7 separate regions of the Homo sapiens genome follow, and all the other regions are linked to region 6. The links are contacts of gene promoters, found by promoter capture Hi-C in blood cells and fetal thymus (Javierre and others, 2016). All regions are on one chromosome and are shown on one strand. The core of a region is centred on a gene start or on the middle of the fragment in contact, and the rest is flanking DNA. Distances in the headings are between cores, read along the strand shown.

Region 1 (4,137 bases), core at 923-3,422, 400 kb before region 6:
GGTAAAGGATTTGAATAGACATTTGTCATAAGATGACATACAGATGGTCAACACACATGTGAAAAGATGCTCAGCATCAGGGAAATGCAAATGAAAACTTCAATGAGGAGATCACCTCACACCCATCAGAATGACTACTATTAAAAAAAATAGTAAGCGCTGGCAAGTGCTATGGTTTGAATATTTGTCCTCCAAAACTCATGTTGTAATTTAATCCCCAATGTGGTAGTATTGAGAGGTGGAGCCTTTAAGAGGTTATTGGGTCATGAAGGCTCTGCGTTCATTAGTGGATTAATGGACTAATGGATTAATGGGTTAGCATGGGAATGAGACTAGTGGCTTTATAAGAAGAGGAGGAGAGACTTGAACTAGGATACTCAGCTTCCTTGCCAGGTGATGCCCTGTGCCATCTTGGGACTACAGAGAATCCCCGTCAGCAAGAAGGCTCTCACCAGATGCAGGCTTTTGACTTTGGACATCTCAGCCTCCATAACTCTAAGAAATAAATTCCTTCCAGCCTGGGTGATGGAGCAAGACCCTGCCTCCAGAAAAAAAAAAAAAGGAAAAAGAAATTTCTTTTATCCATGCAGTTTTAGGTATTCTGTTATAAACAACAGAAATCAGACTAAGATAGCAAAACATGGAGAAATTGGAACCCTTGCACATTGCTGATAGAATTGTACAATGATGCAACCACTATACAAAACCATATGGAGATTCCTAAAAAATGTTAAGATAGAACTGCTATATGAGCCAGGAATCCCACTTCTGGGTTTATATGCAAAAGAATTGAAAGTAGGGATAGCCAGGTGCAATGGCTCACACCTATAATCCTAGCACTTGGGAAGGCTGAGGCAGGAGGATCACTTGAGCTCAGGAGCTCAAGGGCAGCCTGGGCAACATAGTGAGACCTCATCTCTACAAAATTTTTAACATTAGCCAGGTATAGTGGTGCATGCCTGTCCCAACTACTGAGGAGGCTGAGGCTGGAGGAAACTCCTTGAGCCTGAGAGGTTGAGGGTGCAGTGAGATATAATCATGCCACCGCACTCCAGCCTGGGCGACAGAGCAAGACCCCATATCAAGAAAAGAAAGGAAGGAAGGAAGGAAGGAAGGGAGGGAAGGAGGGAGGGAGGGACAAGGAAAGGGAAGGGAAGAGTCTCGATGAGATATTTGATGCCCATATCCACAGCAGTACCATTCAGAACAGCCAAGAAGTGGAAGCAACCCAAATGTCCATCAACTGATGAACGAATAAACAAAACATAGTATATACCTACAATGAAATATTATTCAGCCTTAAAAAAGGGAAGTGGTGTCACATGCTACAACATGAACGAACCTTGTGGACATTATGCTAAGTGAAATAAGCCAACAACAAAAAGACAAATAGTATATGATTTTACTTACATAAGGTACTTAGAGTAGTCAAATTTATAGAAGCAGAAAGTAGAATGGTGGTTAACAGAAGCTAAGAGGAGGAGGAAAAAGAGTTATTTAATGGGTATAGAGTTCAGATTTGTAAGATAAAAAAGTTCTGGAGATCTGTTTCACAATAATATGAATATATTTAACACTACTGAACTGAACATTGTTTAAATTGTTAAGATGGTAAAGTATATGTTATGTATTTTTTTTACCACAATAGAAAAAAATTCTGTGGAGACCTTCAAGAACCTAATGAAAGTTATGCCCCTAACCTTGCCAGAAAAATACATAGACATTGTATATAATTTCAGGGAGTCAAAGGACATCCACTGGGAGAGATGCATAGGTAAGAACTGCTAGGCTAGGCTAAGCTTTATACTTGAAAGATAAGAAAAATAAGGAACAGAGAAGGCAAATTATTTTCTCCAAGATCTCATTGCTCAACAGTAACAAAGCTTGCTTTAGACCCCGGGTATTCTGATTCATGATCTGGTGCCTTTTCTACCGCTGCATGTTGCTTCTTATATTGGGGGCTATATAACCACTAAAAATTGGGCAAAAAGTCGAACTGAAATTCATTTGCAACAAAGGCCTCAGCTGACCCTATGAGGAGCTCTGGAGCTGAGAAGGCCAATCATAGTTGTCTGAAGTTGGAGAGGGGCTAGAAAGTGGGATCAGGAGTCTGGTCCTTCTTTCTTACCCATTAGCCAGTCAATAAATGCAGCTGCTCAGAAGGCATGTGACCTTGGGCCAGGAAGATCTCTTCAGGACCTCAGTTGAGACCCATCAGTCATCAATACTCCCAGCAGGACAGTGGGATGTATACCTGGATCCTGGGGAAGGGGGAATTTGGGCAAGGCAGGATTACTTCCAATACAGTGGGTATGGGAACACTTGCAACAAGCCTTCTCTTCCTTTTCAAATAACCTCAACATTTTAAAGTCATATTTTCCTCTTGTTTCTTCATGCTTCTTGAAGAACTAAGGACAACCCATAGATTATCAAGAGCAGAAAGAATGCAGCTATGATGACTCAAGCTTATCTGCGAGGCATCTGAGGACTCCTCTAAACACTGTAATGACAATTGACCTTGACAAAATTGGGGAGTCTGTTTCCGAAAATAGTCTCTGGGGGATCCCAAGAGTAATGGGATGAAATTGATCGAGCAATGCACTGCTTCGCTTTATAGGCTTTCCATTTGTCACACAAATTATAATGAATACTTATTGCTTGATTTACATTTCGGCCTTCACACTCTTTGCAGCTCCTGCCATGTTTACATGCACCATCTGGAAGAACTAATGAGTCAAGAAGCACCAGAAATTATAATTTGCTCTGACTAAACCTAGAAGATTTTTACTGGCAATAAAATGATTTTGCTTTTTATTTCCCCTGGAATTGCAAGGAGATTAAAACATGAGTTTCACTGAGTTTAGGGCAGAAATATGCAAAGCAAATTTTAATAGAATGAACCTGCAGGCATCTGGCATTCCTTATCAATTCAGAATAATTTAGTCATTATAGCAACAGTCTCATGATAGAAAGTCTCCTCTGACACTGGAATTCTTAAAAATGATTACCTAGCCTGTACTCAAATGTCACAGTGGGTCTCAGTGGGCATAAGAGGGAACACACAGGAATGCTAAGTAGCTTAGAGTTTAAGAACTTGGTCTATGTCTCCCATGGCCTTACAGCTCACATCTGGCATTTATGATTGATATGACACTGGACAGGTCACCTAACCTCTTTATATATGAGGTACTTTGTATACAAAACAGAGATAATAATAGGAACCATATAATGGGGTTATTGTGAGAATTAAATGAGATAATAGAAGGAAATTACACTAAACTTTAGGCATGATACTAAAGCACTCAATAAACAGTCACAGTTATTTCCCAAAAAATAAATTACTCTTTCAAAGGAAATTTAGTCTCTCTTGGGTCAGAATTGCCCTGCATAGAGAGTAACTAAGGATAATATGGATGAGTTAATTAAATACATCCATAGTTTAGTCGAAGTGTTCATTTTTATTCCACGACAGAGTGTGAAGGAGTTAGCCCTGGCCTAGCAAGGCTAGGTCCAATGGACTCTAGGAAATGTAAATGAAGATGCAGATGGGGTCAACTACTTGGAAAACATTTCACATTCTAATTCTTCCTAAAAATTAAATTTAGAAAAGGAAATAAATGACTGTTCTAGTCATTTCTGTTGCCATAGCAAACATCTCTCCCACTGGCAAAGTGAAGGAAAGAGGTAAATATTACGACTACCCAGTAAATCCAAAAGGACATAATTATAATCCTTGAAAGGCTCTACTAAAAATAATGTGTTCAATTTAGCATGCTGGAATTAATGTAATTTGTACAGGTTTTATAAAATAGTATTTGTTATTTCTGTTTATAAAACAGAAAATTTTGTATTGTAGAAGATTAATAAACTACATTAAACTTCTGAAGAAGATAACAAAAATCACCCAAATTCTACAACTCAGAGATTAAACACATAATATTAATGGGTTTCCTTCTAGTTTATTCCTATGCACAAATATGTTGGGTTTTCTTTTTTCAGAATTATGATCGTACTATCTGTTCAATGTTTGACCCTACTAAGATTTACTGTTTAAAAGTAAACACTTTCTACTGTCATAGTTTTTGAAAATGTGATTTTTAGCAATGTGTAATATCCTCTTATATAGATTTCTTGTAG
Region 2 (4,068 bases), core at 806-3,305, 330 kb before region 6:
TGGTAAAATTCCTAGGTACAAAAAAAAAAAAAAAAATCCCAGTACTAACATTTCAAGCCAATTTCCTGTACATTCTACTTCCATAGACCTGGAGAAAGAAGTGCAGGGAGTTAACCTTCCCTATGGTTCTTAACAGTCAAAGCAGGATACACTTACGTATACACTGGTATCTAAGTATTAAGGCAAAGAAAGATGATAGTCTAGAAAATTTTCTGTAGAGTTCTGTGAGACAGAAAAACCTTCCCAGTGCAAATCACTTAATAAAAATGAATCAGGCATGGAGCTAAGGCTCTAATTGGTTAAGCAACAGAAGGCTCTCATGTGAGCTGGGAGAGGGAGATGTTTGGTTATTTGTGTGATTTACACAGTGTTCTTGTTTTTATTTGTGCTCAGACACGATTACAGAGTGGTCATATTTTTGTCTTGCTCCGTCACAGTCACAGAATGGGCCTGTCTGATGCTGAAGTTCTCTGAGTTTGTGTTAGGTAGGAAACACCTGGACCTAGGTGCTAGGCGCAGGCTAACTCCTGTCTGACCCCTGTCAGGGAGGGGCTGCATTGTTCTTTCTCATAGAATGTATAAAAGGCTCCCATAAGTCACTAAGAAAACAATCAACAACCCAATGAAAAATTAGGAAAGAATATGAACAACAATTTACAAAAGAAAAAATAAAAATGAAGAAACACATGAAAAGATGCTCCACCACATCCACAAGGAAATGCAAATTAAAATGGTAAAATACTATCAGTACTTATTTAAATTGGTAGAGCTTTTTTTGAGGGGAATTTAACAATATCTACCAAAATATTAAATGTATATATTCCCTTGAACCAGGAATTCCATTTTTAAAAAACCTTTCACAGAGAATTATATGCACATGTACAAAAAGAGGATATTCATTGCAGTGTATAATTGTAAAAACTGGAAAAATCTAAATAACTGTCAAAGAGGAATGATGAAATAAACTCTGAATTTAAAAAAAAAAAAAAAACTCAGGAAACCCCAGAGTGGAGGACTGCAGACATCGGTTACACTGAACAGCTTTCCTGTGCTGACTATCTATATAAAAACTAAAGCACCAGAAGAGTCATAGTAACTTGATATATTCAGTATTTTTTGAAGAACACTTCATTAAGAAAATTCAAGTTGAAATTGTGTTTTTCACAGAAGCCTTGCCTAAATGGCATAAAGTTTAAGAATGTGAGCTGGAGCTAGAATACAACAGCCAGCAGCCAGTTATGGCTCTTGAGCACTGGAAATACAGCTAGACCAAACTAAGATGTCCTCTAAGTGTAAAAGACACACTAAATTTCTAAGACTTGGTTCAATATGAAAGAATGTATATATCTCATGGATAAGCTTCTATTAATTACATGTTGAAATGACAAAATTTTGCATATACTGGGTTAAAATATATTCTTGAAATTCATTTCTATTTCCTCTTACTTTTTTAATGTGGCTATTAGAAAAGGTAAAATTACATAATGTGGCTTGCATTAGAATTCAACTCAACTTCAATGGAATCAACTTCTTTCTGTCTAAATTTCTTCACTAAAAAATGGGGCTAAGAGTTAACTATACTCAAAAAGTTATAAGAATAAAATGATACGTTTTTAGTAGCCTTTATCGTAATGCCTGGATCATACTAACTAGTCAAAAACCATTAGCTACAGTTTTTATTTATTAATTATTTATTTAGAAATGTTCAACTTACAACAAAACCTACAATGGTTTTTAAATGAGCTAAACTTCATAACCAAATTTAGATATGCTCCCTGCTGCTGTGAGTAGGTAATTTATTTCTAGTACATGAAAAGAAAATAAAAGCAGATACCAGGGCAGGTAAGATGAGCTTCACAGGTGCAGGTAAGGAGGCGGAGTAACGCCGAGCCTTCCTCACAGCAAACTTCTCAGTAGGGATAGATTTCCCGGCAATTCTCTGCTTCAAGCTGTCCACCTGTCTGTGAAGAACCCCAGCCCAGCCCCAGAGAAAGGTCATGGCAACACATACATTATTTGTACCTGTGGTTTTCACAGTGAACTTCACAGACCACCAGCAGCAGCAGCAGCATCACCTGGGAACCTATTTGAAATGCCAATTTTCAGGCCCTACTCTAGACCTACTGAATCAGCAACTCCAGGGCCGGGGCCGAGCAATCTAGATTTTGATAAGCCCTCCAGGTGATTCTGAGGCACACTCAAGATTGAGAACCACTGACTGACACATATTTCTTTCCAGTCAACTTAGCTAATGTCTTAAATCTATCAAACACAGTCCAGGAAATCTAGGTATACAACTGGCGATTTCTACGAGTAAGCAGGAAAGAGTCCAAAGTATTTACTTACGTTGTGGATACTCAGGGAGAGAGAAGAGGGTACACTGGTATATGGCCTATTCCTATTTGCAAGTATTACACAGATCTATAAAATAATATGGCTCAAAAGACAGCCAACAATTAACGTATAATTTAAGAAAATGTTTCCCAAGCACAGGTTGTTTGGGAAATAATCAGCTTAGGATGTGTACCATGTTTAGAAACTTCCTTTTAAAATTCTACAGAATTCCAATTATGAAATTCATAAGCAGGTAAAAATGACAGTAGGATGGGGAGACTACATGTTCCTGGGAGCACTTTCTTATGCATAATTTTATGGATGCATCAAACAAGTTGCTGAGAAAGAATTCAAGGCAATACTCAATTACATCACTGAAAGAAAAAATAACATGAAATAATATGCCTCCAATATGAGTCAAGCTTATGTTAGGTTAATTCCGGGCAAAATATGGAGCTATGGATTTTAAACTACAGTGTCTCATCATTTTTGTTCATTACCGTCAGTGGAAAAGGCAGTGGAAATGTGAGGTGGGGGTCAGAGGAAGGGGTCAGAAGCATGTCTCAGACAGGAACCCTTGTAGTTTAAAGGTAACAGCATCTTTATGAAGAGACCATTCATTGTTAGAACTCTCATTATCCCAACAACCTAGAAGCTATGACAGAGCAAGACCTCAAAGCTTTCTCCTGAAAATAAAAATGATCACATCTTTCACATAAACTGTTTTGATATGGAGAAAACTTAATCTGCAGTGGAAGAAAGAGAAGGAGATTTAAAAGATTTTAATGTATCTTAATACTCCCTTCCATTAATTGTTGTTTCCGTAAAATAAGGAAATGAACTTTACAGTAAAAAGTGACATTTATCATGCCATGGCTTTTACTAATGTTGATGTTGATGCTACAGTTAATATACATGGTTTTTTTTTGGAGACAGAGTCTCACTCTGTCTGTCACCCAGGCTGCAGTGCAATGGCATTATTTCAGCTCACTTGCAACCTCCACCTCCCAGGCTTAAGCAATCCTCCCACCTAAGCTTCCCAAGTAGCTGGGACTACAAGCACATGCCACCAGGCCCAGCTAATTTTTTGTATTTTCAGTAGAGATGAGATTTTGCCCCTTTATACCCTCAGAGCCTTTGTTATAGGAATAGTGTCTCACATACCTGAATAAAGTTACCACATTCTCATTCGTTGCTACTACATCCTCCTCTGGAAGCATACTCAAAATTGCTGCTTTCAAGAACACATAAGTTGCCTTGAGAAAAAGAAGGAGCTTATTACAGAACATCCCTAGGTAAATGACATTTCTACCTTTCAAATCAGGAATGACCAACAAGTCTTCCAGATATAAAATTAGAGGCATTAAAGAAATCAGAGGAAATGAAATCTTATATTCCCTGTTCAAAATGACAACAACTCTTTTCAATTACCCATAATTTAAACCATTTTCCTATTATACAACTACAGCATTCATAGGTGAGAAAGTGGACAGAATGAACAAGAAAAAATTATCTCATTGCCCTCCAACTTCTCATAAGTGGATCAGAATTAATTTTCATTATCATGAAAAGCCTGGGCATCAGGGCACTGGAAAGTCTACACAAAATTATCAACATGATTAAGATTTCATAACTTTATAAGTACAACTCATTTTCAGAGATAAAACCTCATGTTTAAAATAACTCTTTGTTGTTGTTTGAGACAGGGTCTCACTCTGTCACCAGGCTGGAGTG
Region 3 (4,049 bases), core at 1,113-3,612, 360 kb before region 6:
AGGACTCACCCATTTTTTGTTAAAGAATAACTAGATAATCTAGCCTCTGAGGGGGTGACAGCTGGACTCAACTGATGAGAAGAAGTGAACCAAGCAAAGACTTGAGGGAAGTCAACTCCAGGCACAGCAAAGGATGAGTGCAAAGGCTATGAGGTGAGCCCAGTTGGCAGGAATAGGGAGAAGGTGAGTGTGGCTGGGACAAAGTGATCAAGGAAGAGTAGAAGAAGTTGAAGTTGGACTTAGGCAGGCCCAGATCAAATAGAGACATAGAGGCCACATGATGAGCTTAGACTTTTGCCTTATGCAAATTGAAAGCCATGGGAGACTTTAAAGCAGGCACTGACATGGACTTGCATGAGGGCAACTACCCCTGGTCTAGCTAGGAAGTTGCCCTCTCAATGTGACCATGTGGCTTCCTGACCTGTGGTCAGTGCCAAGACCTAACAGACAGACAGGAACTTGAGACAGCTAGAAGAAGTCAGTCCATAAATACCTGTGAGTGGCTCATCAGGATCACTAACCCCACAAGCCACACACTTATTGTGCTAGAGGCTGGTCCTGAACTCACCAGCACCACCAAAGGGAACTGGAGGTCCCAGAGAAAGGCAACCCTAATTCCCCATCTACCTTCACATGCCTACAAAAAAGCCCACATGATGACTGTAGCCATGAACACTTCTGGAGAGAAAGTAGCAGGCAAATACCCTCCTCCCACCAGCCTGCCCACCCTTCTCCCTCAAAGCTGCTACCAGAAAAAGTGTTGTGGGACGGGCATTTCCAATACCAAGGAAGGTGCCAGGAGTCACCAAACCACCCACAAATCTTAAGGGGATTGCCGTGGCCTCTTAGTCACCCAGCCGGAAGCTGCTATCTTCCTGGCAGGAATTGCCTCCCCCTCTACCCCTGCTATTGTGCCAGATGTTCAGGTTGCCTGAATACGTCTGCCCTGGTGGATTACTTCAGGCACCCCTGCCCAAGAACATTCATGGATGCCACACCTGGAACCTACTTGACCAACACTTCTAATGATTTTGTAAGCACCTAATTTCCTGTATTAAATTCTTTTCTTCTTAAAGTACCTAGAGTGATTTCTGTTGAACACTGACTAATATTCAAATAGCAGCACCAACACTCTGCCATGAGAGATGCAGCATGAGTTTGTGTCCTCAGCAATCTCTATCATCTTCCACTCCGTCTATTCACCTTGCTCTGTGAAACCATTCTGCCCAGCCACTGTCCTGGTGAGGCAACTGCCTCCACTTGCAACCTTCCCCTCTCTATGCTAAGGCCGAGTCCTGTGTTAAACCCATAAGAATCTTTTAGATTTCTTTTCTGTCTATTCTCTGTGGCCCTCCCAGAAGGCAACACAACCTGAGGTCCCCAGCAGAGGCAAGTCCACGAAAGGACTTCTGACACCAGCAATCCACGGGTTCATTCAACACATACTGAAGGTCTATGTTTTGCCAAGGCTGTTTGCAAGAGACCACAAAATTTCTGAAAGTCCCTGCATCAGCAAATGATTGATATAAAGGTAATCCTGCAGGGTACCAAAAGGTAGCCAAATTGTCCTTTCCAATCAACTTTCCATTGACATTTGAAAAAGGAAAAGAGGGTTGGGCACAGTGGCTCACGCCTGTAATCCCAGCACTTTGGGAGGCCATGGTGAGCAGATCATGAAGTTAGGAGTTCGAGACCAGCCTGGCCAACATGGCAAAACTCCGTCTTTACTAGGGATACAAAAATTAGCTCGGCATGGTGGCGGGCACCTGTAATCCCAGCTACTCGGGAGGTTGAGGCAGGAGAATCACTTGAACCCAGGAGGCGGAGGTTGCTCCAGCCTGGGCAACAAGAGCAAGACTCCATCTCAAAAAAAAAAAAGGAAAAGAGGACGTCAGTGTTTTGCCCCTGCTGCAGCATGCCAAGTTGTCTGGAGTACAGCAGAAAGCTTGGCAAAGTGGATTGAAGCACTTGCCTGAGCCTGCTGCTCCTGCAGCTCCAAAACCAAATGGGAGATTTTCAGTGGGGCAGACCCCTCTCATGGACGAACTTCACACAGGTGGAAGACAAGGTGGGAAAGTGGGAAAGCGGGAAAGCTCATTCAATCTTGAAACAATCAGAATATTTCTGCACAAGGCAAAGAGACTTGTCCTTTGTGTGCTGTGTGTGCATACAAGAACACACACACATATATACACTGCCTTGGTAGTCTTGGGGGAAAGCAATCTCTCGTGGTGCCTTGGAACTTCAAGCAAATGCTACCTGGTGCTGTGGATTTTGCCCTTTGGCCAACAGACTGTCTTCTGAATTGGTTCAAGTCTACGTAGGGTTTAGTATACAAAAAAAAAACAAAGATATTTTATTGGTTAAAGTGCAGTGAGTGGAATTTCATTTAATTATTAGTGAAACTGGTTTTTTTAGTACTTTTTTTGTATTGGTCTGCTCCAATAAAGCCTAGCCACTCTACATAAGTGCTCTGACTACCCCCAGTCAGCCTCACTCAGAAGGAGCCTTTCTCTGGCCTTCCCCTGGGGCATCTGGAAACAACAGACTCTGGTCCACGCTATTATATGATCTGCCCAAAGTCCCACCAGCAGCATTGTTATCCCTCCTGAGCAGATGGGGCTGACAGTGCCCACCTCTGAGGTTTGCAGCGTGACAGCCACCCTCCCCAGACAGATCTCCACAATGCAGTTCTTGGCCTTGAAGCATGAGTGCCGGGACCTTAATTCCCTCCTTTTTCCCTTTCCCCACTCAGTCAAAGGGTGGAGGTAAATGGCTATAAAGCTTGTTTTCTTGCACTTATATCTAATAAGCTGGGTTCTCTGAATTAGGCCTACTTAGAAAAGAAGTTTTAGAACTTAGACACCTATGCCCACTGGAAATGCACAGAAAATGTTGCATGAGGGCCTTTCCCCAAACTAAAGAATGGAATGTCCTATTGGCAGACTTTCTACTCTTTTCTTAATATTTCATTTTTGGTATCTGTGTTTCTTCCATTAATTGCCATTTTCATCCTTTTAATTTTGTATAATTGCCTACCATTTAAAACCCTTCCTATTTCAGTAGGTGCCCGGTCATTGATACTCAACATTATTTGAACAATTTGGTATAACAAAACAAATAAAATATACCATAGAGAAGAAAAAAGTGTACATTTGCTTGGAATAACAACAAAAATGACATCCATTGCAATCATCAATCGTCCACATTACACACGAACTGAGGTCTGAACCCAGAGACTTCAGAATGGGATGAAAGGCCTAGGAGGTTCCCAGCTTTCCTTCTATCTATCATTCTCAGCCAGTGAAGACTGAAAGCACGACATACCTTCCTGAGTTTGCCAAGGAAAAGTCCAACAGAATCTCCTTTGGTCATTTGAAATCCTGTTTTAAGGCTAAACAAACGTCCAAGCCACAAACCAGGATAAAGAAGCACAACCTCAATGACTGTCCCAGGTGACAGCTTGGAAGCCCAACCTGAGTTTAATCTCCAGCTCAAATGTGAATTACCTGTGTTGTTTTATTGCAACACATCCAACAAAGATAGGGAACAACGCAGCCTTAGCCTCATCTCCAGGTCCTTCCCAAAAAGGGGCTACTGTCAGAAGAGCTGAAAGTGGCTGGAAAGCTAGAGACTGTTAGCAGCATCCATAAGAGAGTCAACAAAAGGCTGTAACAAGAGGCCAGTTGGTGGCTGGCTGGCTGCTAGAGGCCACGTGGAGGAAGAAATTTGCTGGCCTTGGAATAGGAGTCTTTTCCTTTGGACTAAGCTTTAAAGAGTCTTCCTTTGGAGAGCAGAAGATTGCTCAAATAAAGAAAGAAACCAGCTTTATTAAAAAAAAAAAAAAACAGGTGAGAAAGGAACAAGATGAAATCAAATCTATTATGCTTCCTAAGATTTTGGAAGACTTCCAGGGACCAATGTTAGGGAAAATGAAAATTGAGCATCAAATGTTAATGGAAAAATCACTATCGGGGATGTGGAAAAATAAAGTTAATCTGGAAGGAAAAATGGAACAAATGTTGAATGTGTGGGCTTCCCAGTGGCTT
Region 4 (4,094 bases), core at 355-2,854, 300 kb before region 6:
AAGGGGTTAGGTGGGGCTCTGTGCATCCCAGGGACCTGCGGAGTACCCCAAAACACACACCCTAGCTTCCCAACCAACCATTATACTTGCAGAGGATGGAGAGACAAACCTTTACTTTTTTCCATACACAAGTCAGCAGATTCTTGCTCTATCCATGGGATGCAAAGTGGCATGATATTTAAGTAAACGAGCCTGGGGTATTTAGGAGCCTGAGCTGCTAAAAAGGCTCTGCCATGTACGAGCTATGGGACCTCGTCCCCTCTCTGCTGGTTTCCTCATTTATAAAGGCCACTAACGCCGCCTCTAGTTCACAGCTGAAGGATCAAATGAAGTGCTGCACATAGAGCTCATGATACAGAGTAAGCACTGGATCAGTGCTAACTACGTGCACTGAGATTACTGCCCATGATCCGTGTCACTGCTTTTTGGTAAAAGCTCAGAAAGAAGAAAGCATTTTTATGTGGACTGTGACTGAAAATAGGGTATTTCTTATTATTGGGATTAGTGCTAAATAGACTTAGATGACAACAAGTACTTTCTTGCACTTATACACATAGATGCCACCCCCACCCTACACACACATACAACCCACTGGTTCTCATAAATTGGTTCAAGTTCCTGCCATGCTCATATTCCAATGTTTAATTTACAAAGAAGCACCTCTGCAGCTAAGGTCTTCAACAGTACACAGAAAGATGGGGCCAAAGCCATTAACAGACCAAACTTGAGGAGTTAGAGCCTGCACATCCACAGTCAGGGTCTCAGTCCTTCAGAACACCTCTCCTCAAAGTGTGCCTAGTGATTTTCTAGCTGTGTTCAGCGGGATACCAACTGGTAACTTATTTTTACCCAGTCACCTGAATATCCTCTTCCTAGGTAATTCTGTAACAGAGTGAGAACCAGGAATTATGAGCTATGAAAGTCTGCTCAGGAATACAGATTGCTGGCTTGGGGTACATGCAGAGGGGATGAAGTCCGTGGTGGTGATGGCAGCGGTGGGGGAGCCGGGGCGGAGGGGACTGTGCTGGTAACAGGAGCAAGGAAAGCCAAGAGCACCTTCAGGAAAAGCCAGTCAAGGGAGGAGACATCAATGAGGCTGGAAGGGCTCAGTCAAGGCTCAATTATAAGTGGCCTTGAATGTTAGAGTCTGCACTTGATTCAGGAAGCAACAGTGAGTCAGTCCCTGCAGAGATCTGAGCAGACGGGTGGGCAGATCAGGGTTAAGTGAAAGATGAACAAAGTTAAGAGCAGCATGGGGATGTGACAACAAGGCAGACAGAAAAGGCATGAGAGTTTGAACTTTGTATTCTGCAAATAAGTATCTGTCATATTAAATCCCTTTCACATCCCAGGCACTCATTGCATTTAAATATCTGTTTGTAAAGGCAATTTGAAACCCATTTGGGGCAATCCGCCAGCCACAAGAGAAAAGAACTAGTATGTTCCACATTAAAACCATGAAAAGTTTAATGAAATATACTCACTCCTGTAGACAACCAGACACTCAAGGATGTAAATGAAAATTACCAAGAGGAAAAACAAATCACACACTAAAGCTACAATGTTTTGACATGCTCCCTTGAACACAAAGTCTGTTTGGGTTGCAGTTGACAGCCAAACTCACTAAGAATAAAATACAGCTTAATTTATAAAAGTCTTATTCTTTCACTGTGGTTGATTTACATTGCATAGTTCTTTAGTTCTCAAAATTAGCCATTAGGCACTTATGAGTAGGTAACTACCAGAATATCTCTTAATTATAAATTCCTTAGTCCACAGGAGTAAATATCTTCATGATGCACTGAAATAATGTTAGCTAAGCTAAATAAACTTAGCTAAATAAGCTAAGTTTATTTAGATATGAAAGTCTAAATAAACCTGTATTTCATAATAGGCTATAGTCACAAGTTTATTAGTTTATTTTTTTTATTTATGTAGAGACAGGTTCTTGCTCTGTCACCCAGGGTGGAGTACAGGGGCATGATCTGCACTCACTGCAACCTCTGTGATATGGTTAGGCTTTGTGTCCTCACCCAAATCTCATCTTGAATTGTAATCCCCATAATCCCCTTGTATCAAGGGTGGGAACTGGTGGGAGATGTTTGGATCATGGGGGTGGTTTCTCCCATGCTGTTCTCATGACAGTGAGTGAGTTCTCACGAGATCTGATGGTTTTATAAGTGTTTGACAAGTTCCTCCTACACGCACTTCTCCTTCCTGCCACCTTGTGAAGAAGGTACCTTGCTTCCTCTTTGCCTCCTGCCATGACTTTAAGTTTCCTGAGGTCTCCCCAGCTATGCAGAACTATGAGTCAATTAAACCTCTTTCCTTTATAAATTACCCAGTCCTGGGCAGTTCTTTAGAGTAGTGTGAAAATGGACTAATACATTCCACCTCCTGGGCTCAAGGGATCCTCCCACCTTAGCCTCCCAAGTAGCTGGGATTACAGGCACAAGCCACCAGGCCCAGCCTACTTTTTATAATTAGTAAAAAGTAATTTTCTACCTTATTCCAGATTTCCTAAAGTGCCATTGTTCAAAGACATTATAAAAATATAACAACACAGTATCATCTATTTTCAAGATGACTAACACAGAAATAATTCATTATTTCCTTCATCCGTATATGACACATTTCATGCCCTTCTCTACTTGCCTATAGGAGAAAGTGTGGGTTACAGTGAAAGAGTTGTGGCTTAGGGAAAGGCAGATGATCAGTTAACCCTACTCTGCTAGGTGGGGAATCCTGGCCATTTGTTTATAACTCTGATCAGTTCCAAGTCTACAAAGAGGAGGTTAGATTGGTTAATGTTAAGAAAAGCAACAAGGACAGTATATAGCACATACAGGATGCTTTTTAAAAATGGAGGATTATCAGCTGGGCACGGTGGCTCACACCTGTAATCCCAGTACTTCGGGAGGCTGAGGCGGGCGGATCACAAGGTCAGGAGATTGAGACATCCTGGCTAACGTGGTGAAACCCCGTCTCTACTAAAAATACAAAAAATTAGCCAGGCGTGGTGGCGGGCACCTGTAATCCCAGCTACTCGGGAGGCTGAGGCAGAAGAATGGTGTGAACCTGGGAGGCGGAGCTTGCAGTGAGCTGAGATCATGCCACTGCACTCCAGCCTGGGCAACAGAGTGAGACTTGGTCTCAAAAAAAAAAAAAAAAAAAAAGGAGCATTATCATCTTATTTTTCAAATTATTATTATTATTTTTGAGACAGAGTATTACTCTGTCACCCAGGCAGAAGTGCAGTGGCGCGATCTCGGCTCACTGCAACCTCCACCTCCTGGGTTCAAGCTCCCGCCTCAGCCTCCTGAGAAGCTGGGACTATAGGTGTGCGCCACCATGCCTGGCTAATTTTTATATTTTTAGTAGAGACGGGGTTTCACCATGTTGGCCAGGCTCGTCTGTAACTCCTGACCTTGTGATCCACCCGCCTCGGCCTCCCAAAGTGCTGGGATTACAGGTGTGAGCCACCACACCCGGCCAAATTATTATTATTATTTATACTCATACAAAAAATACCATGTCATTCATGCCAAAATGCAGCTAAAAAAAATCTCAAATATCAGCCTTCATACTAAAAGGAAAAAGGGAGGCAGAGGTCAATGGGCCACTAGAGGGAAACCATAGAGAGAGTAACAGAAAGGAGAATACAACAAAAAGGTTCAATTTCTTTTGGGCCTATTTGATTTCTCATTAACCCATTTTAGTGAACTTTAGGTCTAACGGGACTAATTTACATAAGCAGCTCAAAGATGGAAAATATGCAGACACATTCTATCCGAAGTCAAGAGGATAAATACATTCTTACAAATAGTTGGAGGTCAGTTTCTGGAGAAAAAGATGATGGGTTTCAGCTGCCTAGAATGACCAATGAAATGCCATTCTGTTTGACCATGGTTTTGGGGTCAACATCATGCCCCTTTGAAATAAGTCCCAAAGATGTGAAATGTCTCATAATTCCTCTCCTATAATCAATACTCTAGCTTCACATCATGCAAATGTTCCCAAGTTCTCCAACGTCCATAACAAGTTGATAATACTCATCTAACAAAATAAACAAAACTTCCTAATAAAACACACTC
Region 5 (4,155 bases), core at 600-3,099, 280 kb before region 6:
GTCTCCAATGACCTAACTATGAAATGCAAAGGATACTTTTCCACCTGTATCCATGAAGACCTCTTTGCCACACCTGGCTCTGCTGACTGCATTCCAGAACTCACCCTTCCCCCAAGTCCCTTGCCTGTCCTGTGGCCACCAACTTGTAGTCTTCCTCTCTCACACATCTATGTAGCTCTTGTTTGAACGGTCACTGTCTCAGCCATGCTTCAATGTTCTGTGTTCCCAAAAGGTTCCTTCCTCCATTCTCTTCTCTTTTGTTATGGCTCTCTGGGAAATACAGGTGTGGTTCATCACTTCAACAACTACGTGCATGCTAAAGACTTCCAGTCTACAGATGCAGCTTGTTGCTGCCTGTGCGTGTCATGCCCTTATTTATTAATGCTTTCAGTAATTTTTATTTATTTTATTAGAGCTTTCAAACTCAGCATTATAAATGTTGATACAGTAGTTACTTAGGAAACTATCGAATGAGTTAGAGGATAACTATGAAGGAAGAGCACTTCTTTTTGAAGAAAACACAAAATTCCATGAGCAGGAATTTTACACACACAGTAAAAAAAAGGATATGGAAAACAAATGCCTTAAGATCCTTAGAAGTTATTTTCACTTTATCTCCATTCTGTAACCTTTTCTATATATTGCGAGGGTAGAATCCTAAGACAAACTACCAAACCCATGAGTATAAAGAACACACGCATAGCTGAAATTTCAAATGCAAAATCCAAAATGCTAAGTAAAGGATCTGCTGTATAATTCTAAAAGTTTAATAAACCTCTAAGGATGGATGAAAAGTACTTTCTCATGTACTAGAACAGCTTTAACAGAGCTGCCTTAATAACTCATAAAAAAAACCTTCATGTTCAAAGAGAGAATCTGTTAATTCTAAAATGATCTGGAAAGGAACAAAAATTAACCAAGTATGATACCACAGAAAAATATCTAATGGAAGGGGAAAATATCACGATATATTAAATTTTAAGAAGTAGATTACTGAACAGTATATTTAATATGATTCCAATTAAGAAAAAAATTTAATATCTCTATATTTGAGGAGAAAAAGAATACACACAAAAATAATCAGGATTATAGTAATACATATTTCATTCTCTTTGTGCTTTCTATAGCTCTGAATTTTCTACAATGAACACTTCTTAAAATATATTTTTAAACCAAGATTATGCAAAAAATGTAAGAAAGAAATAATCATAATATAATATTTGACGAAAAAATCTATTATGGTTACAACTGTATCAAGAAGCACATGCCTAGGAAAAAGACTGGAAGGAAATACACCAAAATTCTGTGTTCAAGTGATCATCATTATGGTTGTTTCTCCTTTCCTCCATTTTCCCCAATGTTTGGCAGTGTGATTTATTATTTTATAATAAAAATAATAGCTAAAAATATTTAAAGATAAAAGCGACTTGAAAGGGAGTTGTGCCCCAAAGTTGAATTTTGTTTTGCTTTCATGTAACAGTGCCACCTATTCACTGAGTCCCTGAGCAGCCACCGTATCTCCTTCCCTGATTTATAAAATGGGCACTCTACTTGCCTAGGCCTCTCCTGACCTCATTGGTTTGTCAAACGCAATGCACTATGCAAATATCAGTATTATATTCCTTCAAGGGTGGGACTGTCCTCCCCTCTTCCCCCAGGAATGCCCACAACCCTTCCTGACCTGCTGACAGTAGACGCTCCGCGCTGTCTGGGCGCCTGTTGTGTATCACATGATGCAAAGTGAAGGCTGCTTGTTGCCATATCTGAGTGAGAAGATCTGTTAATTAAAAAGGCAGAGCAAGGTTTTTTATTTCTTTGTCCTGTGAGAAAAGTCTACACCAGTGCAATTACACAACATAAGTCTTCCAATTATTTTTATACATCTTACCTCCATTTCTTATCAATTTTAAAAATCAAGTAACAAAAATCTACTGTTATGTGTCAAACATTCCTGAAATACAGCCCTAATAACTTTATTTTTTCATTCTAGTACACAAAAAATAAGTTAACTGAAATTACTCCACAGGTCTCCACCCAAAGATAGGATTGTATCTTGTATATATCCGTCCAGGTTTTTTCCCAAGTAAATCTATACATATTTTAATAAAACTTTATTAAAGATACTTATTATAATGGGTTATGGTATACAGTATAATGGATTACATATAGGAATTATTCTGAATCTTTTCTTCTCAATAAATCCAGAGTTGCTTTATCATAGCATCTGCAACATGCTGCTGACTGGAAATAATGATAATTTGTTACCTGTCCCTCATTTTCAGGCATGTAGGTTACTCCCAAAGTTTTGGCATTACAAACTACTGTTAATAAGCCCCTTTACTCACTTGCCTAATTATTTCCAAAAAATACATTCCCGAAGGCAATGGTACTTATTTTGTAAAGTACTTTATTTTTAATAAACTGTCTAATTTCCCACTAAATACACACCACAGAAAGCTGAAGTAACATAAAGAAGGTAAGGACCAATTTGCCTTGCAGAATCTTCGGCCAGTTTGTTGACCCACAGATATCTGACAGGCACACAATGGGGGCAGGTCCACTCAGAGAAGGAAATTTCCAGAAAGAGTTTAAGAGTAAGTCCTGCCCTGTATTACAATAGAATTGCCAATCTCCTTCCATTTCCACTCACCTTAACAGTACACATTTCACAGAGAAGAGCTAGAGTCATTAAAAAAAGAGGTAAAGTCATTAAAAAAAGAGGAGAAGTTTTGCGTGTTTTTTTGTGGTTGTTTTTTGTTTTTGTTTTTGTTTTTTAATTCTAAGATGTACAATGGGTGCAGTGGCTCACGCCTGTAATCTCAGCACTTTGGGAGGCCGAGGCAGGTGGATCACCCGAGGTCAGGAGTTCGAGACCAGCCTGGCCAACATGGTGAAACTCCGTCTCTACTAAAAATACAAAAATTAGCCAGGTATCGTGGCGCATGCCTGTAATCCCAGCTACCCGGGAGGCTGAGTCAGGGAGAATCGCTTGAACCCAGGAGGCGGAGGTTGCGGTGAGCCAAGATCGCACCATTGCACTCCAGCCTGGGCGACAAGAGCAAAACTCCATCTCAAAAAAAAAAAAAAAGTGCAGTGTCCTCAATTAAGTGGAGTTTTGTTTTTTGTTTTTTTCCCCCATTGGAAGTTCAGACTTCCCAATGCACTCTAATATTTTACACTAGACATTCATTTTTATCTTGGATATATCAAGTTCCCTAAATTTTTCACATCACATAGGGGAAAACTGAAGTTGTTCTTACAAGGGTGGTTAGGTGTGGGTGGTGGGAGGGAAGAAAACTCCACAGGTAAGGGAAAATGTCATTAGAAGACAAGTTATTTCCATCACAAAAACTTCTTATTCTGAGAATACAGGTACCACTTCCATAAATAAGACTCTGGGCAGTGACCATCAGCTCCGTTTACAAGCAGGGAAAGAGGAAGTGACCGACTGAAAAGGCTATCTACCCATTTGGACCATTCTTGCCCATCTGTTCATTTACAGACTCATTTTCGAGGGCTAGAAACACACAGTCTCTGAAATGTACTGTTAAAATATCCCCTTTTCACATTTGCCTTTAGCTTTAATAAAAGTCTCCCCAATATTGAAATTTTTACTTAGTCGTAACTATCACCCTTTTCTTTAACATTCCTGATTTTGAGGGCATACTTAGAAAAACCTTCCCTCTACAAAGATTATATAACATAGTTTTACCTGTGTTTTACTTTTTAATATGTTATATTTAATCGTTTATAATTTAAATAAATGGTACAAGATAGTGCTGTGTAATTTTTTCCCTAATCTTTTGCCATGTTTCCCAAGATTGTTTTTAAAAAAACACATCTTTTCCCCCAATGATTTGACATGCCATATATAACACACTAGATATAAACATAAATTTGGTGTGCCAGGTAAATATTATATGTTTCAAAGTGCTAAAATAATTGGGACTGGGCACGCTGGCTCATGCCTGTAATCCCAGCACTTTGGGAGGCTGAGGCAGGCAGATCACTTGAGGTCAGGAGTTTGAGACCAGCCTGGCCAGCATGGTGAAACCCCGTCTCTACTGAAAATACAAAAATTAGCCAGGCGTGGTGGTGGGTGCCTGTAATCCGAGCTACTCAGGAGGCTGAGACAGGAGAATTGCTTGAACCCGG
Region 6 (3,901 bases), core at 934-3,433:
AAGGTTGTTGCCCTCGGTCTCACAATATATTTGGAGGTCAAAGCATACACAGAGTTAAGAATTAAAACAAAAGATTATCACGAAAGGAATAGATTAGAATGTAAAATATACAGACAAGGATTATGACTAAGGATTGTTCAAGTAAGACTGCACCGAAAAGGCAGACTTTATAGGCAAGGAAAAAAGCTTTGGAAGGAAACTTGTGAACAGGAGTTTACGTAGAGCAGCTAGATGGAAGAAAGTCAAGGAACAGTGATCGTTTTACACTTGGATGGCACTCTCAGCTCCTAGACAGGACTCCGTTATCTAATGGGTGTTTTCCACCATTCCCCTGCTGACATAACTAAAACTACAGAATTTAATTATTTTTAAGAAATACATTTTCAAAGGACAGTAAATTAGTCGAAAATAAATGGCTTGGAAAAATAAAACTTCAGAACCCCATGTAAGTATATTTTTAAAGGATCTTGAGTTTACCTAATCTAATTGATTGCAACATATCTTAGGTCCTATCTATCTCTGTTTGAGAGCCTGGGTACCACCATAAACAAAAAGAACCCTTTTTCTAAAAATGGAGCGTAGATCTTTAAACAGTCTCAATTCCTCAATGTCACAAAACATCCTGGGTCCTTAATCATTTCTCTGTACCACTAGATGTGAACTGAGGAATCTGGTCCACACCTCCTTTTTGCCTATTGGAAACAAAAAGGTAAAACAACTTCTTCAAGGTCATAAACATCTCAAATAAAAAAGGAGAAATGAATTTTCTGGCCCTTCCTCGGTACTAAACTACTGTAATACTTTCAAGAATATCCAGTCCTGAATCTGTATTAAACAAGCAAATCCAGAAGGCCTCATCAAGTACAAGGTATTTTTTTTAAAACCCTGTAAATCCAATTTAATCACATACGCACTTCTCTGACATCCAAGTGTTTGTGTGTAATCTGCACAAATTCCATTGATATTTTGTACTTGATCCAAAACTATGGAAATGTCAATGTTTCACTAATTTTTAAACAAAAATTCACTCTTCATTATTTCACCTACAATGGAATATTAACTAGCAACGCATTTAAATATTTCCTAGGAAGAAAATCTGTCCAAGTCTGCCAATAAACCATAGGGAAATACACAGGTATGTAGAAACGTCTGGATTTTCATAATTACACGGGAGATTATTGGGCAAAAAACTAAAATGAAAGGTCAGGTTACAAATGAGACTAAAGCGAGGGAGAGAAAGGACAGAAGAAAAAATAAAGAGACACGGTGGGCAGCAGGCCTCTGGAGAGGAGGGTAGCACTGCTAAGCGCGAGGGCTACAAATCACTTACTCGAGCTGGCCAATGGGGATAACCTTTCATCTTGGCGAAGATGAGGTCTCCAGGTTTGAAATCGCGAGTCATGTTTCGGGGGCGAGACCGGGGGTCCGAAGCCCGGGAGGCGGCGAGGAGATGCGGCGGCGCGGGGATGCGGGCGGCGGACGCGGGCCCAGCTACCGGGCCCGCGGGCGGGGGAGGATGCCTCGGGGCGTCCCGACGCGCCTGCTAGGGAGAGCACCGAGGGCGGTTAAAGCGAAGAACCCCGAAGGGAGGGGCCGCAAGGGGAGGGGGAGGGGAACCGGCGGGTGGGGGTGGGAGAGCGAGGGGACGGCCGCCTCCCGCTCCTCCCCCGCCAGTGCGCTGCCTCCGCGCTGGAGCAGGTCCTCCACCCCGCCACCGAAGAGACGCCACCACCTGAAGCAGGGATGCTGCCCGGCCAGAAATCGCCCGTCTGCCCGCCCCATCTTTCTCCGGGCTTTTTCCACCGAGCTTAAGCCCCAAAAGGGAGGGGGTGCATGGGAGAGAAAAAGGCAGGGATTCCGAGAAGCGAGCGGCCCCCTTCCGCCCACGCAAGGCCTCCCCCGCAACCTGCTGCCCAGCGGCTGCAGCCTCGGCCCCCTCGGCTCCCGGGCGGGCCGCGTCCACTTCCCCGCTACAGCCAGGAGCGACGCCACCGAGGGGGGGGCGGGGCGAGTCCCCGTCGCCCGCTCACCTGCCGGGGCCGCGGGCGCCGACGCTGCGGTTGCTGGCCGGTCGCCTCTACCCGCGTCCACGCAAGCCACCTGCGCCACCAGCTGCCGCAGAGGCGTCTCAACGGCTCGGAATCGCAACCGCGCCGCCGCTGCCGCCGCCGTAGCTGCGCTGCTCCCGCGCGGCTCCCGCTCGGCGCCCGCTAGCACTGGGGCGCGACCAACTGTTTACCGAGAGAGGGGGGATGTTGCAGCACCCGGCGAAGCTGTGTGGCTCCGAAGCGGATTTTCTGGAAACCCTACGTCCCCAAGTTCGCTTTCATGTAACAGGTGCATGCAGATGGAGAGGAAGACGCAAGCGAAGAAGAAAGGACTGGGCGAAAATAGCTCGGCCTGCCGCAAGTTCCCCCTGCGGTTTGCGGAGTGGTCGGGCCCGGCCCGCCCCTGCTGGCTTCTCTGCGTGTGTGTATTTGTATGTGTACTGTATGTAAAAGGCGGGGAGGGAGGAAATGATTGTTGTGGACGCGGTTTTGGGGGCGGGTATCCGGGCCTCTCTCCCTTGGCTGCGTGTTAGGGAGAAAGTGGCAGTAAAGATTCATGTTCTTGTATCGTTTCCAGGGTGGGGAGGTTTGAATGCTGCTTTTGCGCGGTTTGCATCATCCAAAAAAGAGGAGCTGTACGAAAACCCTAAGATGAAATTGGAGCATGCGGCGGTTGCAGGGTGTGCTGCATCTAGGCCTCTTGCACCTCGCTGAATGGGCCTCGTAGTCTCCTTTTCCTTGAAATTGTAGTATGAGAGAGCCCTATTTCATTTCTTTTGCATTTGCATCACCAAGAACTATTAAGAAAAATGCAACCCTACTGAATGCAAAATGCGAAGGGTAGAAAACAATGACAGGAAAACAGAAACCTTTTAGATAGGATGTGAGTTTGGGCCCTAACTAAATTTTAGCTGCATCTAAATTTTATTTCCCTAGTAGAATAGGAGCTGGTAGGTGGTACAATGTGTAAGTGTTACTAAACCTCAAATATTTTCTCTCTTAAAATGCTCTTCAAGGGATTTTAAAGGTTAATTTTTTGATCCTTTAGAGAGGCTGAAAATATTTTTAAAAAGAATGTTAAGACATATAAAAATAAGAATAATAAGACATATATTAGCACCTAGATAATACTGTTTTAAATACGGGACTCAACTGGAAATGAATTAGGAAATTTTTTTTGAATTGGTAAAAATTGAGAATTTTTTGAAAGCGATACAGCATGTCTTTAAAAAGGAATGAAAGAAGACAGTCCCAAAGTAAAATGTCCTGTAAGGAGTTTCGAGAAACTAAGTATACCTGGGCAATATGCAGAGAGTTCCAAGTGGAGCAAAAAGAGAAATTGGCAGAGGAGAAGGAAGGGTTGGTGAAATGTCTTGAAGCTTCTCATTCTGAATATGAATTTAATGTGTGTAGTAGGAAGCTACTATAGGTTGCTCAGCAAGAAGGGGGTAAAAATGATTATTTAACCAGTTCTTGATGTTTCAAGGTAGATGTTAGTAGAAAGAGGCTGGGGGTAACTGGAGTACTCATGAAATGACGCATTTCTCAGTGAGAATGGTGACTAAGAAAAGGGAAGGAAGAGCACAACTAAGTAATTACACAAAGGAATGATTGTCAGGTGTTGGCTATAAATTATGCATAGGAAAAGGTGGAAAAAGATGTATTGAAGAAAAGCTCAAGATACAGAGTAAGAGAGACCAAAGCAGCATCCAGCAATCATTTTTTTGTGTGTATGCACTTTATTTGTTCTAAACCCTGTAAGGCCTTGCTACTTCAAGTGTGGTCCAAGGCCCAGCAGCAAGGGCTTTACCTGGGAGCTCAGGTAAAGCTCAGACCTTCCCCAGGCCTTCTAA
Region 7 (3,998 bases), core at 64-2,563, 340 kb before region 6:
TGAGTGAATGCTTCCTCAGCATTCAGCACCATTCCCACATGTGCTGTAAGCCATTCCGGGTGCTCCGCAGCCATGTGTGGCGAGGGGCTACTGTACTGGACAGAGCAAGACTGAGGGGAAACAACACGGTTTACAGGCTCATGAGGGCAAGGTAATTTTCTAAGATCCATTCCAGGCCCAAGGAATCACAAAATCTTAGGGTATTAAAACATCACTGGAGTCTTCGTCAACTCATTTTAACTAAATGTATTTGAATTTAAGATTTCTAAATATGCAGAGTATAAATACAAAAAAAAAAAACAGAAATGGAGGGAAATGAATGAAGCATTAGATAATTCCAGAAGATTTTCCAGTTAGCCACAAAGATCTTTTTAAAAATTATTTTTAATGTCCAAGCTGGAGGAAAACCCTCCTATTTATGAAGATCAACAGACTAGACTCACTTTAAAAAGGAGTGGATCACGAGTTCAGGAGATCGAGACCATCCTGGCTAACACGGTGAAACCCCGTCTCTACTCAAAATACAAAAAATTAGCCAGGCGTGGTGGCGGGCGCCTGTAGTCCCAGCTACTCGGGAGGCTGAGGCAGGAGAATGGCGTGAACCTGGGAGGAGGAGCTTGCAGTGAGCAGAGATTACGCCACTGCACTCCAGCCTGGGTGACAGAGCGAGACTCTGTCTCAATAAAATAATATTAAATTAAAATAAAATAAAAGGAGTGGAAAGTATTAACACCGGGGATTGTTAGTGTCTATCACAACTACCTCTAATAGTAGCTTTGAAAGAGAAAACATTCACTTTTATTTGAAATGGTAGGGGGGGAGCATTTTTTCTTTACACACTCCCTGCTGATTTGAAGCCCTAATAAAAGAATCATAGAGTGACCTCAAAGTTCAACTAGTCTAAGCTTGCAGGACAGGCAGAAATGACAGTCACATTAGCCCTGCTTAAACTCACCCCTTTGCAGAAGAACTGGTTATTGATTTTAGACTGTTGGGTTTTCCGATAATGAAAAATCTTCCTCGGCACTGATTAATCTGGAATTCAGCTTCCTACAGCCTTTATCCACTTGTCTCATTTCTGCCCTCTGAGGATAAAGACAGGATCAATGGACTTAATTTTCCTATATAACTTGGAAACTTCTTGTATCAGGGAGCATAGAAAACATTAACATATATGTCCAGATAAGAGCTGATACAGTTCACCTTTCATTCCTTGTCAGGGGGAAATCATGCCTTCCTTGTCACCATTCCTACAAAGCACAAAGTTACTTAAATTTATACAGCACCAATCAGAACCCTGCCTCTCCATTAAGGAAAAAAAAAAGGCAATTATGCCAGGAACTACATGAATTGCACTGTCAGACACAATGGCAACCCAACCCCATCATAAATGCCCCTCAAAAAACTAGATAAAACTGTCACTTCAGTATTCATTCTTCACAGAACACCCTAATGACTCCAAAATGCAATATTAGCTGATGCCCAAGAAGTTGGTGCCACTACAATATCTTGAACATAGCAGGAAACATAAATATTTGTAGCATTTTGATATTACAGTACTAAAAGATCCACTGGATATACTGTCCATAGTATCAGGTAACTGCATAAAGAATAGGAAACAAAAATAAAACAAAATATAAATAACAAAAAAGATTTTTAAATGGAGATGAATTTCTTTTATATTTGTTTAGTAATGCAGAGTTAAAATAAAAATGGCCACTCTAAGCTTAAAACTGTTTCATTTTATCCCCAAAAGAGAATTTGTTACTGACTTGCAGCACTGACTTGCAGCTTCTCACAGTAACAATGTAAGAATATATGCTCAGTATACCCACAGTCACAATGTGAGTGTGCGCTTTCAAAAATAATGTTACCAAAGCTCTTCTAAGAGCTTTTTTCCAAAAAGCTTTTTTTGGAAAACTTTTTTCCAAAGCTATACACAAATAATTTTTAATGTATTTTCCACTACTAATTATAATGACAGTTAATTTTATTTTCTATTTTGTCTGTACCTAAAGTTGTATTACTAATAACACATTGATATCTACCGCCATTGATATCTATCTTTCATTGGATATACATCCTCAGTGTTGGTCAAGAATCAGTACCTTGAAGAAAACAAGCCACACACTGCTTGATACAGGTCCATGTGGCAGGGAACGGCAGGAGCAGGTTCATATAACCTGGGTAGCCTACTGTCAACATCAAACACATGAATACACAGTAAGGTATTTGAATTTCTACACTTCTTTCATTTTACAACACAAACCACAGTATCAGCCAATACTTTTGTGTTGATACTGTAATCCAGACATAAAAAACCATAATTATTATAATAATTCATACTTTTGTATAGCCTTTTACAGTTTACAAAAAGCTATCATATGTTTTATCTAATTGAGCCCTCACAAGTACCAAATACCACACCGCTATCCATAGTGGGGCAACTGAACCCCTGAAAAGCTGAGCTACGTACTCCGTGTCATGGAACTATTAACCCACAGAGATGAACTCGTGACTCCCAATATGTGGCTCCTTCTGTTAAACTGCAGAGGCTTCTATGACAAGTTATTCTTCAAAATGGAAATAGAAATAAGGCCCAGATTCATCAACTCATAAATTGTCTTTTCTCACTCTGGATGCCACAACACATACATGTGGGGAGTTGGGGGCAATGATGATGATTGAAAAATAAAACACTCCAAGTGGGAATGGTTTGCATTCGACATTTTAAAGTCATTTGTTGAAAATAAATACCTAATACATAGACTCACAGTTATAAAACTGAAAAAGACCTTGAAAGTCATCTGTTCTTTAATCTTGATTTCACAGAAGAAAATGTGGTGACACACAGGGCACAGTGGACTCCCTAAAGGTCTCCTCACTAATCGCTAATGGGTAGCAGAACCAGGACCATATGGAGTGTCAAGCTCTCTTCTGCTCTATGCCCTGATTCTGTTTCCCAACTAAAGGACTAAGCAAGGTCCAGATTATCTACAAGGAGACATCACAGTGCTAGAGAGATTAGAAAACTAGGTCTTACCAACATCTTAAGTGTAAAAATTATTGATATTTTACATATCATTTAAAGCAGCAGGAAATTTACTTCCTAGAAGAAAAATAATCCATGTATGTATTTTAGGCTCTCATTGCTAAGGTTAAGAAAAATTCCTAAAATATGACACTTCCTTCCCTTTAGATACACAGGGGTTTTGAATTTTGTTATTATAATAGACTTAAGTACATTCAAAATCAGTCTCTCCAAAACGTCACCACCTTTAATCAAATGAAGAGTAAAAAACCACTAACTGAATACTGCATCATCCTTTATAGAGAAAGGTCTCTTCAACCCATGAAGTACATTATATCGATCCGTGTTCATGTTCTCAGACTGTCTTTTTCAGAAGTCTTCTGAAGGTCACTGTTAAGCTATTTTAAATGCAATGATATTTATTTATCTTCTGAAATTTAAATACAGGCAACAAAATATCTCTGAAGTTTAACTACCCAACAAATCCAAAATTGGCTCAACTTGTAAGCTATTTGCTAAACAATATTAATTTTCACATTAAAAAAATAAATAATCTAATTAGACTATTGCATCTGCAAGTCTTTCAAAAGACTTCTTCGCCCCCTAATTCAAATAATATGAAATTCTTTTGGGGGAGGCAAAATATAAGAATTTTCTAGATAATATAGAATGCCATTCCATAGGAAAAAAAATTATGTAGACCAACAGTAAATCTCTCAGATGATAGAAAATATTGACCAAAAAAACTGTTTTTTTGTCTCTTATTCACAAGATCATTTTTCCACTTTAATATAAGGTTGAATCTATAGCAGATGCCGATGCTAATTGAGGAAAAATTCCATCCTTCAAGTTCTGATCAATCTGAGGAAGGTTTTCTCCAGAGGTGAAGAGCTGCCTGAATTCTGAAGTGTAGTCTGGACTCCAGGGAGTAATCTTTGTAGTTGTTCCTGAAGACAATAACAATAAA

The links. Contacts are between HindIII fragments. The CHiCAGO score rates a contact against its expected background, and 5 or more counts as called.
Region 1: a contact is called between a fragment that was not itself captured here and the fragment with the promoter of PSIP1 in region 6, in 5 of 17 cell types (fetal thymus, naive CD4 T cells, total CD4 T cells and 2 more). The highest score is 7.5, in fetal thymus.
Region 2: a contact is called between a fragment that was not itself captured here and the fragment with the promoter of PSIP1 in region 6, in 13 of 17 cell types (non-activated CD4 T cells, total CD8 T cells, activated CD4 T cells and 10 more). The highest score is 15.1, in non-activated CD4 T cells.
Region 3: a contact is called between a fragment that was not itself captured here and the fragment with the promoter of PSIP1 in region 6, in 2 of 17 cell types (non-activated CD4 T cells and activated CD4 T cells). The highest score is 6.2, in non-activated CD4 T cells.
Region 4: a contact is called between a fragment that was not itself captured here and the fragment with the promoter of PSIP1 in region 6, in 10 of 17 cell types (non-activated CD4 T cells, activated CD4 T cells, naive CD4 T cells and 7 more). The highest score is 12.7, in non-activated CD4 T cells.
Region 5: a fragment that was not itself captured here is called in contact with the fragment with the promoter of PSIP1 in region 6 in 8 of 17 cell types (activated CD4 T cells, total B cells, non-activated CD4 T cells and 5 more); the score reaches 17.8 in activated CD4 T cells.
Region 7: a fragment that was not itself captured here is called in contact with the fragment with the promoter of PSIP1 in region 6 in 6 of 17 cell types (naive CD4 T cells, non-activated CD4 T cells, total CD8 T cells and 3 more); the score reaches 9.0 in naive CD4 T cells.

Annotation. Positions count from the first base shown.
Region 1 is chr9:15,108,346-15,112,482 of GRCh38, forward strand. No RefSeq gene overlaps it. Among named protein-coding and RNA genes, the nearest start is that of TTC39B, 200 kb to the right of the region's middle. The HindIII fragment of the contact is 582 bases long and covers 1,882-2,463 here.
Region 2 is chr9:15,183,446-15,187,513 of GRCh38, forward strand. TTC39B (tetratricopeptide repeat domain 39B) reads right to left here. Exons shown (of 20, transcript NM_152574.3): 15 at 3,499-3,590; 16 at 1,835-1,961. Among named protein-coding and RNA genes, the nearest start is that of TTC39B, 120 kb to the right of the region's middle. The HindIII fragment of the contact is 1,397 bases long and covers 1,358-2,754 here.
Region 3 is chr9:15,150,285-15,154,333 of GRCh38, forward strand. It overlaps LOC124902123 (a long non-coding RNA gene), which reads left to right. Exons shown (of 3, transcript XR_007061423.1): 2 at 3-153. Among named protein-coding and RNA genes, the nearest start is that of TTC39B, 150 kb to the right of the region's middle. The HindIII fragment of the contact is 839 bases long and covers 1,944-2,782 here.
Region 4 is chr9:15,204,829-15,208,922 of GRCh38, forward strand. All of the region lies in intron 6 of TTC39B (tetratricopeptide repeat domain 39B), which reads right to left. Among named protein-coding and RNA genes, the nearest start is that of TTC39B, 100 kb to the right of the region's middle. RefSeq lists a silencer at 1,003-1,297. The HindIII fragment of the contact is 5,394 bases long and covers 1-4,094 here.
Region 5 is chr9:15,224,236-15,228,390 of GRCh38, forward strand. It overlaps TTC39B (tetratricopeptide repeat domain 39B), which reads right to left. Exons shown (of 20, transcript NM_152574.3): 3 at 1,682-1,777. Among named protein-coding and RNA genes, the nearest start is that of TTC39B, 81 kb to the right of the region's middle. The HindIII fragment of the contact is 4,969 bases long and covers 1-4,155 here.
Region 6 is chr9:15,508,787-15,512,687 of GRCh38, forward strand. It overlaps PSIP1 (PC4 and SRSF1 interacting protein 1), which reads right to left and starts at 2,184. Exons shown (of 16, transcript NM_033222.5): 1 at 2,031-2,184; 2 at 1,331-1,543. The coding sequence starts at 1,402. RefSeq lists enhancers at 1,297-2,250, 2,251-3,203, 3,856-3,901 and silencers at 1,310-1,509, 1,610-1,659, 1,790-1,849, 1,860-2,069, 2,090-2,169. The HindIII fragment of the contact is 3,241 bases long and covers 185-3,425 here.
Region 7 is chr9:15,168,132-15,172,129 of GRCh38, forward strand. TTC39B (tetratricopeptide repeat domain 39B) reads right to left here. Exons shown (of 20, transcript NM_152574.3): 20 at 1-3,978. The coding sequence ends at 3,888. Among named protein-coding and RNA genes, the nearest start is that of TTC39B, 140 kb to the right of the region's middle. The HindIII fragment of the contact is 821 bases long and covers 904-1,724 here.